Linked DNA regions of Homo sapiens: all the other regions are linked to region 3. Evidence: promoter capture Hi-C in 16 types of primary human blood cells and fetal thymus (Javierre and others, 2016). All regions are on one chromosome and are shown on one strand. The core of a region is centred on a gene start or on the middle of the fragment in contact, and the rest is flanking DNA. Distances in the headings are between cores, read along the strand shown. Region 1 overlaps TDRD3 (tudor domain containing 3). Region 2 holds the start of LOC105370228 (a long non-coding RNA gene). Region 3 holds the start of DIAPH3-AS1 (DIAPH3 antisense RNA 1).

Region 1 (4,529 bases), core at 720-3,219, 410 kb after region 3:
TACAGTTGATCTTGAACAGTACGGATTTGAACTGTGTGAGTTCACTTATACGTGGATTTTCTTTGATTTCTACCATGCCACCACTGAGACAGCAAGACCAACCCCTCCTCTTCTTCCTCCTCCTCAGCCTACTCAACATGAAGACAATGAGGATGAAGACCTTAATGATGGTCTCTTTCCACATAATGAACAGTAAATATGTTTTCCATATGGTTTTTGTAACATTTTCTTTTTATTGTAGGAATATAGTACATTATACATATACAAAATATGTATTAATTGACTATGTTATTGGTAAGGCTTCTGGTCAGCAGTGGGCTATTAGTAGTTAAGTTTTTAGGGAGTCAGAATTTATACTCAGATTTTCAACTGTGCAGGGGTTGGTGCTGCTAACACCCGAGTTCAAGGGTGACTTGTATTTACAATGGGATATAATTGAGCCTTTAAAAAGAAGGAGATCCTGCCGTTTCTCACCCATGAATGGACCTATAGGATGTTATGCTAAGTGAAAAAAGCCAGACACAGAAAGAAAAGTATTATGTGATCTTACTTATATGTGCAATATTATAAACCAAAAAAGAGCTCAAATATAGAAATAGAGAATGAAACAGTGGTTACCACAGGCAGTGGGGAGGGCAGAGGAAATGGGGAGATGTGGGTCCAAGGACAAAAAATAGATCTGTAGGATGAACAAGTTGAGAGATGTACAACATGAGGACTAAAGTTATTAAAATTAGAGATTTTTATTAAATAAGTAGATATTAGCTGCCCTTGTCACACACAAAAAGTAACTGTGAGATGATAGATATGTTAATAAGCTTCACTATGGTAACTATTTTACTATCTATATGTATCCTGTAACATCATGTTGTAAACCTTGAATATACACAATAAAAATTTTTTTAAATGTCATGAGACACTTTGCAAATAATTCTAAAAACCTATATGAAATGGGTAGTTTTCTAGGAAAGTACAGATGACCAAAGTTGCCCCCATTAGAGTTAGAAAGCTTAAGCAGACCAATGTTATAGAAGAAATAGAGAAAATTAAGGAGAGATTACTCCATAAAAGCACCAAGGGACAAATGGTTTCACAGAGGAATTCTATAAAACCTTCACATACCATATACTGTCATTCATCACTTTATGGGGTATGTTCTAGAAATGTGTTCTCAAGCAACTTTGTCACTGTGGGAACGTCACAGAGTGTTCTTACACAAACCTTAATGGTATTGCCGACTACGCGCATAGGCTATATGGCATAGCCTGTTGCTCCTAGGCTACCAACCTGTACAGCATGTTATCGTACTGAATACTGTGGGCAATTGTAACACAATTTAGTATTGTGTACGTATTTATGTATTTAAACATATTTGTATATTAAAAAATATGTAAACATAGAAAAGATACAGTAAAAATACAGTATTTTAATCTTAGAGGACCACAGTCATATATGTATCTGTCATTGACCAAAATGTTATGTGGAGTGTGACTGTATTGAAAACTTTTTTTTCTTAAGAGCAAATAGCTGTAATATCCACTTTAAATCTTTATTATTTTCAGCATCAGGTTCATCTTGGCATCAGACAGATTTGATTGATTTTGTTTTTTCTTCAGAATGTGTTCCATTTTTTCGTTCTTTGTATGTTGGGTAATTTTGGATTTTGTAGTGCATATTAATAGTGTTAAATTGTAAAGATTTTTGTTCTGTTTTACACTGATGAATATTGTTTCCTGTGTTATTAAAGGTACTTTTTTTTTGTGGGGAGGCTGGGTTTGAACTGCAGTTTCGTTTCTAATGCAGCAGCTCCATCCTCTTTTCAAATCTTTTGTCTTCAGCTGGGATGTTTGGAGTCGGCTTCGCACGTGTCATTTGGAGGTCAGTCAGGTGTAGGTAGACAGAGTTTGGTGATCCCCTCTCTACGTCTTTCCTTTGACTGATCTCTCCACACTGTTCAGTGCTCCTGGTTTACCCACTATCCTTTTCTGTATAATAAGAAGGGCCACTGACACTCTGTGTAATTTGTATTTTCTTATTTATAGACTTAAGCTAACCAATAAGGTTCACTGAAAGTATTCATTCAGGAAGAGATAATGAATCAAGGCATTTTAAGTTGAATAGAAAATGTCCTTCTAGATTCTAAGCTAAGGGATGGATGGCCTTTCAAAATAATGTTTTTTATTTAATTAAATCAATACTTCTCAAGTAATTACTGGAATTTGTAATGGGTATATTTATTTCCTGTGGCTGCGGTAGCAAATTACCACAAGCTGGGTGGCTTAAAACAATTGAAATTTATTCACTTAACAGTTCTGGAGATCAGAAGTCTGAAATCAAAATGTCTTTGGAGCTGTTCTCCCTGCAGAGGCTTTAGGGGAGAATCAGTAACTTACCCCTTACAGCTTCTGTGGTTGCTGACATTCCTTGGCTTGAGGCATCATCAGTCCAGTTTCTGCCTCCAGCTTCATATGGCCTTTTACTTTTCTGTGTGTCACTTTACTCTGTGTGTTTATTTTTAAACTCCCTCTGCCTCTCTCCTATAAAAACACTTGTCATTGGATTTAGGACCTGCCTGGATTATCTAGTATGATTTTCTTATTTCAAAGTTCTTAATTTAATTACTTCTGTAAAGACTGTCTCTAAATAAAGTAACATTCACAGATTCCCAGGCATTAGGACATAAGCATATCTTTTTGTGGGCCACCATTCAGGCTACTATGAAGAGGTATGGGGGATGTAGTCAAATTATGTTTTCTAAGTTAATATAGGGGCCAAGGGAAAATTTTCCCTTCTGCCTCTGAAGGTTTGCTGAAGATCAGCTGAAGAAAGGCCGATTAATAGCAGAGGCATGCAAAATTAATTTTATCGTGCATAGCACAAGGGAATTACAAGAGAATGATTGTTTATACAATAGTGCAGTGGGGGTACAGAAGCTTATATACTCTTCACAGAGGAAAGGGAGATGTGGATAATTTTAAGGTGAAAAGTGATTTTTAGGGGAATTCAATGGGCTTGGAGAACATACGTCTTGAGACATACGTCCTCGTGCATCCTGAGACAAAGCCTTGTGGGCCCACAGAGAAGACAGTGGTTCTGTCCAGGTGTGTTGACAGACTTCAGTCTTTATTCCTGCAGTATGAGTTAATGAAAACTCAAGGAAAGGACCAGTGGTAATTTTCTTCTTTGAAGAGTCTGGAGTTTAAGCAGATAAGGGAGTATCAGAGTAAAGCTTCTTCTAGTATCTGCCAGTCTCCAAGGGCCTTTAATTTAAAATAATCAGCATACCAGGGTGCCATATTTTGGGGTGAAATTTCCTGGTCTCCTTCAATAGAAAAAAATATCTAATTTATTTGCAGCATTTCTATTTCAAAAATGTAAGCAACACTAAGCACTTTGTATTTAAGATGCATTTTAAAGAAATGGAAATGAGAATTACTAATTCATATTTATCAGCTGACATATATATGGGACTATTTCACTCTTTTGACAAAAAATTTATTGTTTAGTATTTACCTGTTTAGTGACACATTTAAATGGCTGCCCTTTTTAATTGTAATATTGTGCTTTTTATATGCCTCTTTCATTTTTTACTTCATTTTAATGTACAGGGAATCGTTATGCTATTAGATTGTAAGACATATGATTGCATATACTAGAAACAAATAGGTATTTGTCTTAACTGCCTATGATAATTGAAGTAGATTTTCATTTTTAAGAGTTTGAATGACATTAAATAAATTTTAAATGTAAATTGTAAAATGGCTAATTTTTCTCTGTGCAATATAATTTTAAACTTTATTGCTTACTAGCTCTTTCTTGACATTATTGTTTTAAATTTTGACATAAATGGCAGGTTGAACAAAAACAATAGCAGTTCATTTTGCATTAGAAATTCTGTTCCAGGCAGAAACAGTTGCACAGTCTAATGGAATAACTTACTTTCTTATTGTTAAAAAACTTTCAATTGTAAAACTGAATGATTTAAACAAAATAAATAATAAAGGTATTTCCTTCTTTCTGACACTTTTCTTTAGTTCTCAGTGAACTCCATGTGAGTAGCCTGCTAGAAATATGTAGTTAGGCTTACCAGTAAGGAAGCATATACACTTTTGACTATTAGCTGTAGCCTTTGAAGAAATTCCCTTTATCATTAATTTTATTCTCTTTCTTTCTCATTAGAGAAATTGTATTCTCTTTCTCATTAGAATCCAGATTTTTGAATATCATTATGTTTTGAAAATATTTTGTAGAATAAACAAGGGCACCATGTTTAAGAAGGAAGAAAACTAATACTTATTTAGCACCTACTGTATTCCAAGCATATGCTAGGTATTACATGCTGTCTCCTCATTTATTCTTAGAAAAACTCTGTAGATCAGTATTTTCAGTACGGTCTTTTTCGGCAAGGGTAAACTGAGGCACAGAAAGATGAAGTAAATTGACTAGGGTCCCACATGTATTGAAAGGTAAGGCTGAGATTTTCATCTAGTTTTCACTAGTTTCACTAAAAAGTGATAGTCTCTCCAGCT
Region 2 (4,187 bases), core at 1,478-3,977, 320 kb after region 3:
ACTCTGAGATAGCTACTATTATTATCTTGTTACAGATGAAGAAACCACAGGAACAGAAACTCAGAATAGAAAATCTATATCAATTTTTACACATGAAAATAGAACCTGACCCCTACCACCTGACAGAAGTTTTATATTTGGGGTATTGTATGATGGAAAAAAAAACCCAGAAAATGGGGTCTCTTACTGTGTAAAGAAGTGTAATGCTCCCAGAAGAAGAGAGTTCCACAGGGAGAGAACTGAGTAAGGAGACCTGACTTCCTCTGTGTGCAGGAAAGGCAGCTATGAAGGAAGACTGACCTCTTTGTGAAGGTAGGTATTTTGTTATCAAAAGGTGTCTTTCCTTTTGATAACAAAATAAAAAATTTATGTTAGCTAGAAACTTATCCTTTACTCTGCTAGTGCTCTACTAGAGCAATCTACATTTAGCTGTGTGTGATGTGCTTGTTTAAAGAGACCAAAGGAACATGGTGCCCTCAGGGAAGACGGCATCAGCTTCTTGAGTGGACCGTGGGTCACAGTTCCACGAGGTGATTAGCAGTGCTGTTTGGCAGTCTTAGAGGAGTATTCCAAAGAAATGTAAGACCAAACCTGGCAACCCTTATAGATTGGAGAATGCTTCCCTGAAAGGGGAAAAGAGGAAACTAGGAAACATTTGCATTTCATAATACACATGAATTGTTCGTAACATATAAGCATGATTTCATAGATAATCTTAAAAATAATCCAGTAATAATATGACACCGTGATAGCATTGTAAGTTAAAAAAAAAAAAATCACAAATCCGCTGGTAGCCTAACACCAACGAAACGTGGACAAATAACTTTTTGTTGAGAGTTACTCCTTTATCAGTAGCAACATTGTTGAGCTCTATTTGGAACCACAATGTATACATGAAGTAAAGTCTATTATTTGGAAATTTATAGATCAAATGAAAATAAGCCTACACTATAAGTTTAACCAAAGAATGCAAAATAAACTAGATTAATAATGATGAAGTGAACAGTCCTATATAATTAAAGAGTAAGACTAGTAGTGAAGAAAATTATGACTAACCCAACATAATACTGTTGATACACTGATGATAAAGGGTACTTTCAAAAAGCAGAAAGAATTTCAAGTATCTGCAATGTATAAATAGTGAGCAGTTTGCAAATTTGTTTAAAAGCCAGTAGAATGTTAATTTAGAGTCCCTAGTAAATTCCAAAATAAGTTTAATTTAATTTATGAATACCACATTGTAGTAATTCTTAGTAACTACTTACAAATTATTAACTCTCTTAGAAATGTTTTGGGCAGCATGTAATAGAAAACTCCAGCTGATATTGACCTAAGCCATAAGAATTCTTACTGTTTATGTAACAAAAGCCTGGAGGCATATGATTTGAGGATTAGATCAGCAGCTCCAGATTTTAGGGTACTTGCTTGATGTCTTTGTGATTATCTTGGACATCCCTGCAGCACCAGGCACCACATTCTCGGGCCTCAAAATTTAAAGACAAGAAGCAAGAGTGAGGCCAGAGTGGTGAGAGAGCTCCTCCCACAGGCCTGTTCCTGTTTATCAGGGAGAGAGAAACCTTTCCTAGAAGCCTGCCCATGAGACCTCTCAGGTCACGTTGGCCAGAACTGGGTCCATGGTCATGCAAGCTACAAGGGAGACCAGGAAAGTAAATATATGGGTTTTGTTTTGTTTTGTTGTTTTTTGTTTTGTTTTGTTTTTTTCCAGCTTCTAGAGAGGGAGAGATGAGCAAGGAAGAAGGAAGTTGGAAATGAGTGTTGGGCATCATTAATAAATGTTGGCCATGTTTTCTGTCTTAGTCTATTTGGGCTGCTATAACAAAATACCTTAGACTGGGTAATTTATAAACAATAAAAATGTATTGCTCACAGTTCTGGAGAATGAGAAGTTCAAGATCAAGGTGCCAGCTGATTTGGTGTCTCGTGAGTACCCATTCCTCAGAGGTGGTGCCTTCTATGTGTCCTCACATGGTAGAAGGGGGAAACGAGCTCTCTTAGGCCTCTTTTTTAAGGGCACTAATCCCACTCATGAGGGTGAATCCCTCTTGAAAAATCACCTCCTACAGGCTGCACATTTTAATTTTGTTGCATTGGGGATTAGGTTTCAACAAATGAATTCTCAGGGTATGGAAACATTTAGACCACAGGATTTTCCAAGTTTAGAAGCTCTTTCTCTGAATTTCTTACAACATGAAGCCAAGACTTCTTACATGGCAGGCCTTTCATGGGCCTATTCTCTAGCCTTCTCCCCACCTTCTCCCATAGACAACTGAGGTTCTGACCATTGTAAATGAATTGCAGTTCCTACACGTCAGCATCTGGACCTATACATTTACATCTTGGCTTTTCTATTCGCCCTTGAAAGAAACAGTCTGTGAAGTATGTTCCAGCCTTCTCTATAACCCCAGGAAAACTCCATTCTTTCCCCAGCATCCTGTATTCTTCTGTATCACTTGATCACATTGTTTTGTGTCTGTTTATTTGTGAGTCTTCCTCGCCAAACTCCAAAGGGGATTTTATTATGCTCACTTTGGGGCAGCACCTTGCACATTGCCAGGCATGGAATTATAGCTTCCTAAAGACTCCTTGAATGAAGGAATGGATGGATGAATATATAAATCTTTGGCCAGGCGCAGTGGCTCACGCCTGTAATCCCAGCACTTTGGGAGGCTGAGGCAGGCGGATCACTTGAGGTCAGGAGTTCAAGACCAGCCTGGCCAACATGGTGAAACCCCATCTCTACTAAAAATACAAAAATTAGCCGGGCCTGGTGGCACGTGCCTGTAATCCCAACCACTTGGGAGGCTGAGACAGGGGAATCGCTTGAACCTGGGAGTCTGAGGTTGCAGTGAGCCAAGATCGCACCACTGCACTCCAGCCTGGGCGACAGAGCAAGACTCCGTCTCAAAAAAAAAAAAAAAAATAGAAAGGAAAGGAGGGAGGGAAGGAAGGAAGGAAGATATAAATCTTTGGATTTAGTCCTTGCTGTCCTGTGTATGAATGTCCTGATATGAGCATAATTTTCTTTTTTTCTGCAGTTTTGCTCTCCTGCATATTTTCCCCTGGACACCCATCTTATCTGTGGAGCACAGCACCAACGGGCTGCTCCTTCTCTGGGCTGCTGATTTGTCCATTGTCAGTCCTCTGCAGGCTGCCTCCTAAGCCTCAGGTGCAGTCTGACACCTTGCTGCATTTCCTCTCTGCATTTACAGAGGATCTCCTCTGCGTTTTCTGCCTGTGATGCTACAGGGCAGCTCAATCTCAACAAGGCCCTGTCTGCTGCCTCCAAAAAGCCCTGTCCACTAAAGTAAGCCCGTTTCTTACCTCATCACTTTGTTACTAACTGTCTTTACTGATCACATTTTTCTCATTATATCTTCTAATAGGAGAGAATATTTTTCTTTATCAGAAAACGTTGTGTTATAAAAGAATAGAACTGATTTCCTATTTGAAGATTTTCACCACACCCAAAAGAGAAAACAAGAGAACACACAGTTTCTAAGGTTCTCCCTGGTTTCCTTACTTGCCTGGTCCCATTATGCCTGAGGAGGAGGGGTGGAAGGAGAGAGTTCAGCAGGAAACATTTCACTCTTTCCTGCCTCTTATTTATTTATAATTTTGAGAGTGCTCTGTCTCCAGGAGGGAAGTAATGCTTCTCTTCTCAAATTTCTCACTGACTTTCAAATGGGCTTAAATACTGATTTCTTTAGACTTCTGACCTAATGTATTCTACACAATATGAATCTGAGGTTCGATTTCTAGGTGGGTGGGTAAGAGGTGGAAAGGGTTTGTACTCAGAGCTCAGAACTGAGAACAAGTTGAAAGATTTGCCAATGTACAGGGGAACAAAAAGTGTGCAGAGGTCTCAGGAGTGCAGGCTTCTCTGCTACAACATGAGTTTTCATAACTTGAGCTGACTTTAATATGATTGATTCATTAGGGAACATTGTATTTTGTAGATTGCATTGGCTATAATTGGACAGAGATTGGGAATTAGCACCAATCAGAGCAAAACTGCTGTTCTGGTTGCAGCCAAGTTTGTTTAAATGGCTGGGTGATAAGATGGCTGATGAAGGCGGTAAGTGCTATCTTTAGATAAGCACTGAGCTAATTGGTATTTCTGGAGGTTACTGGAAAAGAAAAGCAATTAGTTCTGCGGTGACACAGAA
Region 3 (4,559 bases), core at 1,249-3,748:
ACCATTTGTATATTTTCAAAGCCTCCATTTAGAATTTTTTTTAATTTAGGGTTTCAGTTAAAAAAACAGTTTAAATATGATAAGGAAATCAGTTTTTCATAGAAGTATGTTAGACCATAACTAATAAATCAATTAAGAGAAATAATTACTCAAAAATTTCCAGCCAATAAGAAACTATATTAGCTGCTTAAATATACCTCAACATTTATTTAAATTCTAGTAAATTCTAGCCTAGAGTAGATAATGAAACATTAAATGAATCAATCTGTATTAAATTATTATATAATTAGGGGAATATGTTGATAACACTTACATGCTTTCTTCCCCTACAATGCATACCGCAGAGAGAAGTTTAACCACATCTGTCATCATATTGGGGTGTCTGGGATCCACGGCTTTGGCCAATAAGGAAAGGCTCCTCTCCTCACTCATAATTCTTTCCAAGCCATACTATAATATTTTGAAAATAAGAGGTCAAATGTTAGAAATTAGTTAGAAAAATAATACCCTGAAGGAAATGTAGTTATTAAAAAAAATTTATAGGACATTTTTACACTTACTAAAGCTAAAAAATATAGACTGTGTAACACTCTAAAAAGTTCATGGCTGGGCACGGTGGTTCACGCCTGTAATCCCAGAACTTTGGGAGGCAGAGGCGGGCAGATTACCTGAGGTCGGGAGTTTGAGACCAGCCTGAGCAACATGGAGAAACCCCCTCTCTACTAAAAATACAAAATTAGCCAGGCATGGTGGTGCATGCCTGTAATCTCAGCTACTCGGTAGGCTGAGGCAGGAGAATCACTTGGACCCGAGAGGTGGACATTGCAGTAAGCCAAGATCACGCCATTGCACTCCAGCCTGGGCAACAAGAGCAAAACTCCGTCTCAAAAAAAAAATAAAATAAAAAGTTCATAAGGGTATTCACTTTATGTCAAGAACCACAAAACTAAACCAAATAAAGATAACTCAAGGTGATCTTACAACAATACAGCTGACAATTATTAAGACAGGTTAAGTAGCCAAATTGAGAAAGTGGGAAGCAGTCAGAAACATGGGATTTGCCAACAGAAGCATATGAAACAAACAGCCAGATACGGAACCAGACACTGAGGCCATGAAAATCTTTTTCCTGGGAAGGAAGGTTGGTAAGAGATATATTATCATAAGCAAACACACAGATCAACACTGTCCAAGAGAAATATAATGTAAACCACATGAGTAATTTAAAAATTTCAAGCAAGCAAAACTATTTTCAATAAAATTAATCCAATATACCCCAAATATTACCATTTCAACATATAACCAATATAAAACATTTATTGATGACATTTCACTTCTTTTTCTTCCTAAATAGTTGAAATCCAGTGTGTATTTTATACTGTAGCACATCTCAATTCAGACTAGCCACACTTCAAATGCTCAGAAGCCACATGTAGCTACCATATTACAAAATACAGGCCTAGATATTAGCACTTAGTTCATAAATAAGCAAAAACTGAAGGATGATTTGAGCAGATACCATGTAGAAACTGCCACAATGGGCACAGGTATTCTAATCACAATGGTATTTATTATAAGGAAAACAATGCAGTTGTAAACTCATTCTATAAATGAGACGATTGGGATTAGGATAAAGTTTATTTACTACTGCCAGGAAGTCAAATCCAATTAGAAGATAAGTTATGTTAATGATGTATCTATGAAAGATAACTGTCAAAATACAGAAGATGAATAGAAACAATAAAACAGTACTATTTATCTAGCATGCATCTCAGAGGATCCTACTAAAGCATGAGAACTGACTAATCAGAGTTACTACCAAACACTAAAAAAGGGCCTTATTCCCAATTACAAGCCTATGAACTAAACTCAAAATCAGCACTACATGTAAGCATTGAAGTTGAATCTATAACCAGCTTAGACCCAAGTACTTTGATTGTGATAAAATCCTATTTATAACTTTCCTATCTTGTATATGGCCATTTATGCAAAGAAACCTTGTACTGGGCTGAAATACTCCATTTACTTTAAACCACTATCTGAGAAACACAGGAACAATGGAGAAAGTATGAGGAAAGGCCAAGGGCCCAAGAATATGAATTTTGGAGAGATTACTCTGTCTTGTTAGTAATAGGGAAAAGTTTACAACAAGACAGCTAAACAGTCAGGAAATACTTACTTTTATGATAGCCTGGGCTATTACCTAACTGGAAAAAGAATGAAAAGGCAGGCACAGGACCAGAAACTACAATATGCCTTGCTAATCATTCCAGGGAATTGTCAGGTTTATAAAGTACCACTTAGATTCAATTCAGAAAGTCAGTCAATGATTACCAAGTACACAAGAGCTGGCTCTGTCCTAATAAATCTGGGAATTGAGTAAAGCTTGCCTCTAGCATTTCCCCTTCTTTTCCCACCTACCTGGTTGTCCTTAGCTAACACCTGCCCTTCTAGAATCAGAATCCTGTGACTCCTCCAGCCACCCAAGGTGACTCATGCTGACTTCCTCCAAGTGATACTACCTGCCTTCTCTGCCAAACCCTCTGGCCCTAACCTATCATGTATGAAAGGTGAAATAGGAGCATACTCTGATTTCACAGTTTTAACCATCATCCTGTGACCCCAAAAGTCCATCACAGGTAACGTTCTCTGATTTTGGTAATGCAAAAATGTGTCACACTCATTTTAAGACTGGAATGAGGCCAATTACTACTACTCAGTATCTATAAATACAGAATTGCTACTTGTATAAATTACTCTCAATTATTTAAAAAACATAGCAAAACAAAACAAAAACTGTTGACTCTGTGTGAGAAGTTGTCAACTTACCAGTGCTCGGATTAAAGTGCATTTAATGAGGGCTGTTTTAGGTTAGAGAGGCATGACAAATTTTGAAAGGTCTAAGGATGTATCTTTCCTGAATGTCAAGGACCCACTCCGGACAATATGGTAACTGGCCTGTTCTAAACTGAGGATCAATGCCAGGTTCCGCCTGCATTCCACATGAGGCCTATTATTAGCTAATAGATGGAATTTCAGGCACTGAAGATGATGTTTTAGGTAGAGGAAAGTTAATGCTCTAAATCCTCGTGTAGGACGCCCAACATCTGGACGCACACAGCATGACTACTAGTGCTGAGCAGCCACCCACAGTGAGTTAATCCCAGTAGCAGAAATAATGTGGTTAAAGTTGCTGGCTTCAGAAGCAAAGCACCCGCACCTTGGGTGCACTCTTCAAAGCAACACACACAGTTAACTGACCAAACTGAAGTCTCTGTTCTAATTACCTTTCAATTTGAATATACTAACTTTTCATCCTTATTATCTTTTCTTTCCCCTACGCAATTAAAATTCTCTTCCATTTAAAAAATACTCTTAGTCCAATTTAATGTTATAAGAAATTCACTTTCATGTAATGTTATCAAATTTGCCCATTAATTGTATAATTAATTACTAGTACCAAATAAGGTACCACATTTTTTTCCTCTTAAAACTTATATTTTCACCATTCAATGAATGCTAATAAAGACTGTATAAGTGAGGTTTAACAAATTTTGTACTTATAGATGTGATCAAATAAAGATTAAGACAACCATTAACCAATCTTGAAGGGAAAAAAAACTTCACCAAAAATTTCACATATTGCTAGGTTTAGAGTTCAGACACTATAATACTAAGTAACAATAACTTAAATTAACTTTTTATTCTTAATAACACAGATAAAAGCACCAAATAAAATGGCAATATTTTATAGCTCCATGTATATAAACTACAAGCAACAAAAATCTCTTAAGAGAAAAATAGTATATTAATTAGAAAATAAAGTTCAATCTTCCTCAGATTCATTATGAAACAAAGTAAGAATATTATCTTCTATTTACCACCTTAATTTAACCATGATATTCTTCTTAAATTCAAATTATGATCCAAATGTCCCTTTGGTTTAAAAAAAGTTCCTAGATTTTTTCTACTTTTGGCTTTTCCATCACCAATGAAATTTCCAATTTCTATATTCTCACTTTAAAAAGGGCTTCCTAAACCAGTTCTATGTACTTAGTGGGCAAAGACCTCTCCCTATCAGCAATTTGATTCTTTCATTCATTTACTCTTAAAACAGATATGTAAAAAGCTACCTTATATATCTAATATCTGATTTTCAAAGAACCGTGAATTCAGCATAGAAAGGAGTTGTGATTCCTACATCACATATTTTCTTTGAAAATAATATCTGTTTAGAGGAGGCAAGGAAGAAAAAATATTTCATTGGTTAAAAATAGAAAGCTTAGCTCCAGAAAATGCTTAAAAATACACAGTTTAACAAGACAAAAATAATTAGAAAATATAAATATTTGCTAATACATGTAGTAAAATAAATATAAAATAAATCAATAATTTACGTACTAGTACTTAAGTGTGTAGCCCTATAAAAGTTTGTTTTTAAATTAGAATAAGGCAAAATATTATAATTAAAATTAATCAGAAATATACAGATGCTTTTGCTATAAAACAAAAATAATCGTACCACCACAGGTAAAATTTCCCCCCCTGCTGTCTAACAG

The links. The method cuts DNA at HindIII sites, captures the fragments that hold promoters and counts their contacts. A CHiCAGO score of 5 or more calls a contact.
Region 1: a contact is called between a fragment that was not itself captured here and the fragment with the promoter of DIAPH3-AS1 in region 3, in 1 of 17 cell types (M1 macrophages). The highest score is 5.7, in M1 macrophages.
Region 2: a fragment that was not itself captured here is called in contact with the fragment with the promoter of DIAPH3-AS1 in region 3 in 1 of 17 cell types (erythroblasts); the score reaches 6.5 in erythroblasts.

Annotation. Positions count from the first base shown.
Region 1 is chr13:60,425,651-60,430,179 of GRCh38, forward strand. The region is part of intron 1 of TDRD3 (tudor domain containing 3); the gene reads left to right. It overlaps LOC124903178 (a long non-coding RNA gene), which reads right to left. Exons shown (of 3, transcript XR_007063814.1): 3 at 3,236-3,322. Among named protein-coding and RNA genes, the nearest start is that of TDRD3, 31 kb to the left of the region's middle. The HindIII fragment of the contact is 1,924 bases long and covers 1,008-2,931 here.
Region 2 is chr13:60,328,257-60,332,443 of GRCh38, forward strand. It overlaps LOC105370228 (a long non-coding RNA gene), which reads left to right and starts at 169. Exons shown (of 3, transcript XR_942002.3): 1 at 169-312. RefSeq lists a silencer at 1,443-1,512. The HindIII fragment of the contact is 6,341 bases long and covers 1-4,187 here.
Region 3 is chr13:60,010,220-60,014,778 of GRCh38, forward strand. DIAPH3-AS1 (DIAPH3 antisense RNA 1) reads left to right here and starts at 2,499. Exons shown (of 5, transcript NR_109838.1): 1 at 2,499-2,639. DIAPH3 (diaphanous related formin 3) reads right to left here. Exons shown (of 28, transcript NM_001042517.2): 8 at 314-450. The HindIII fragment of the contact is 1,896 bases long and covers 2,384-4,279 here.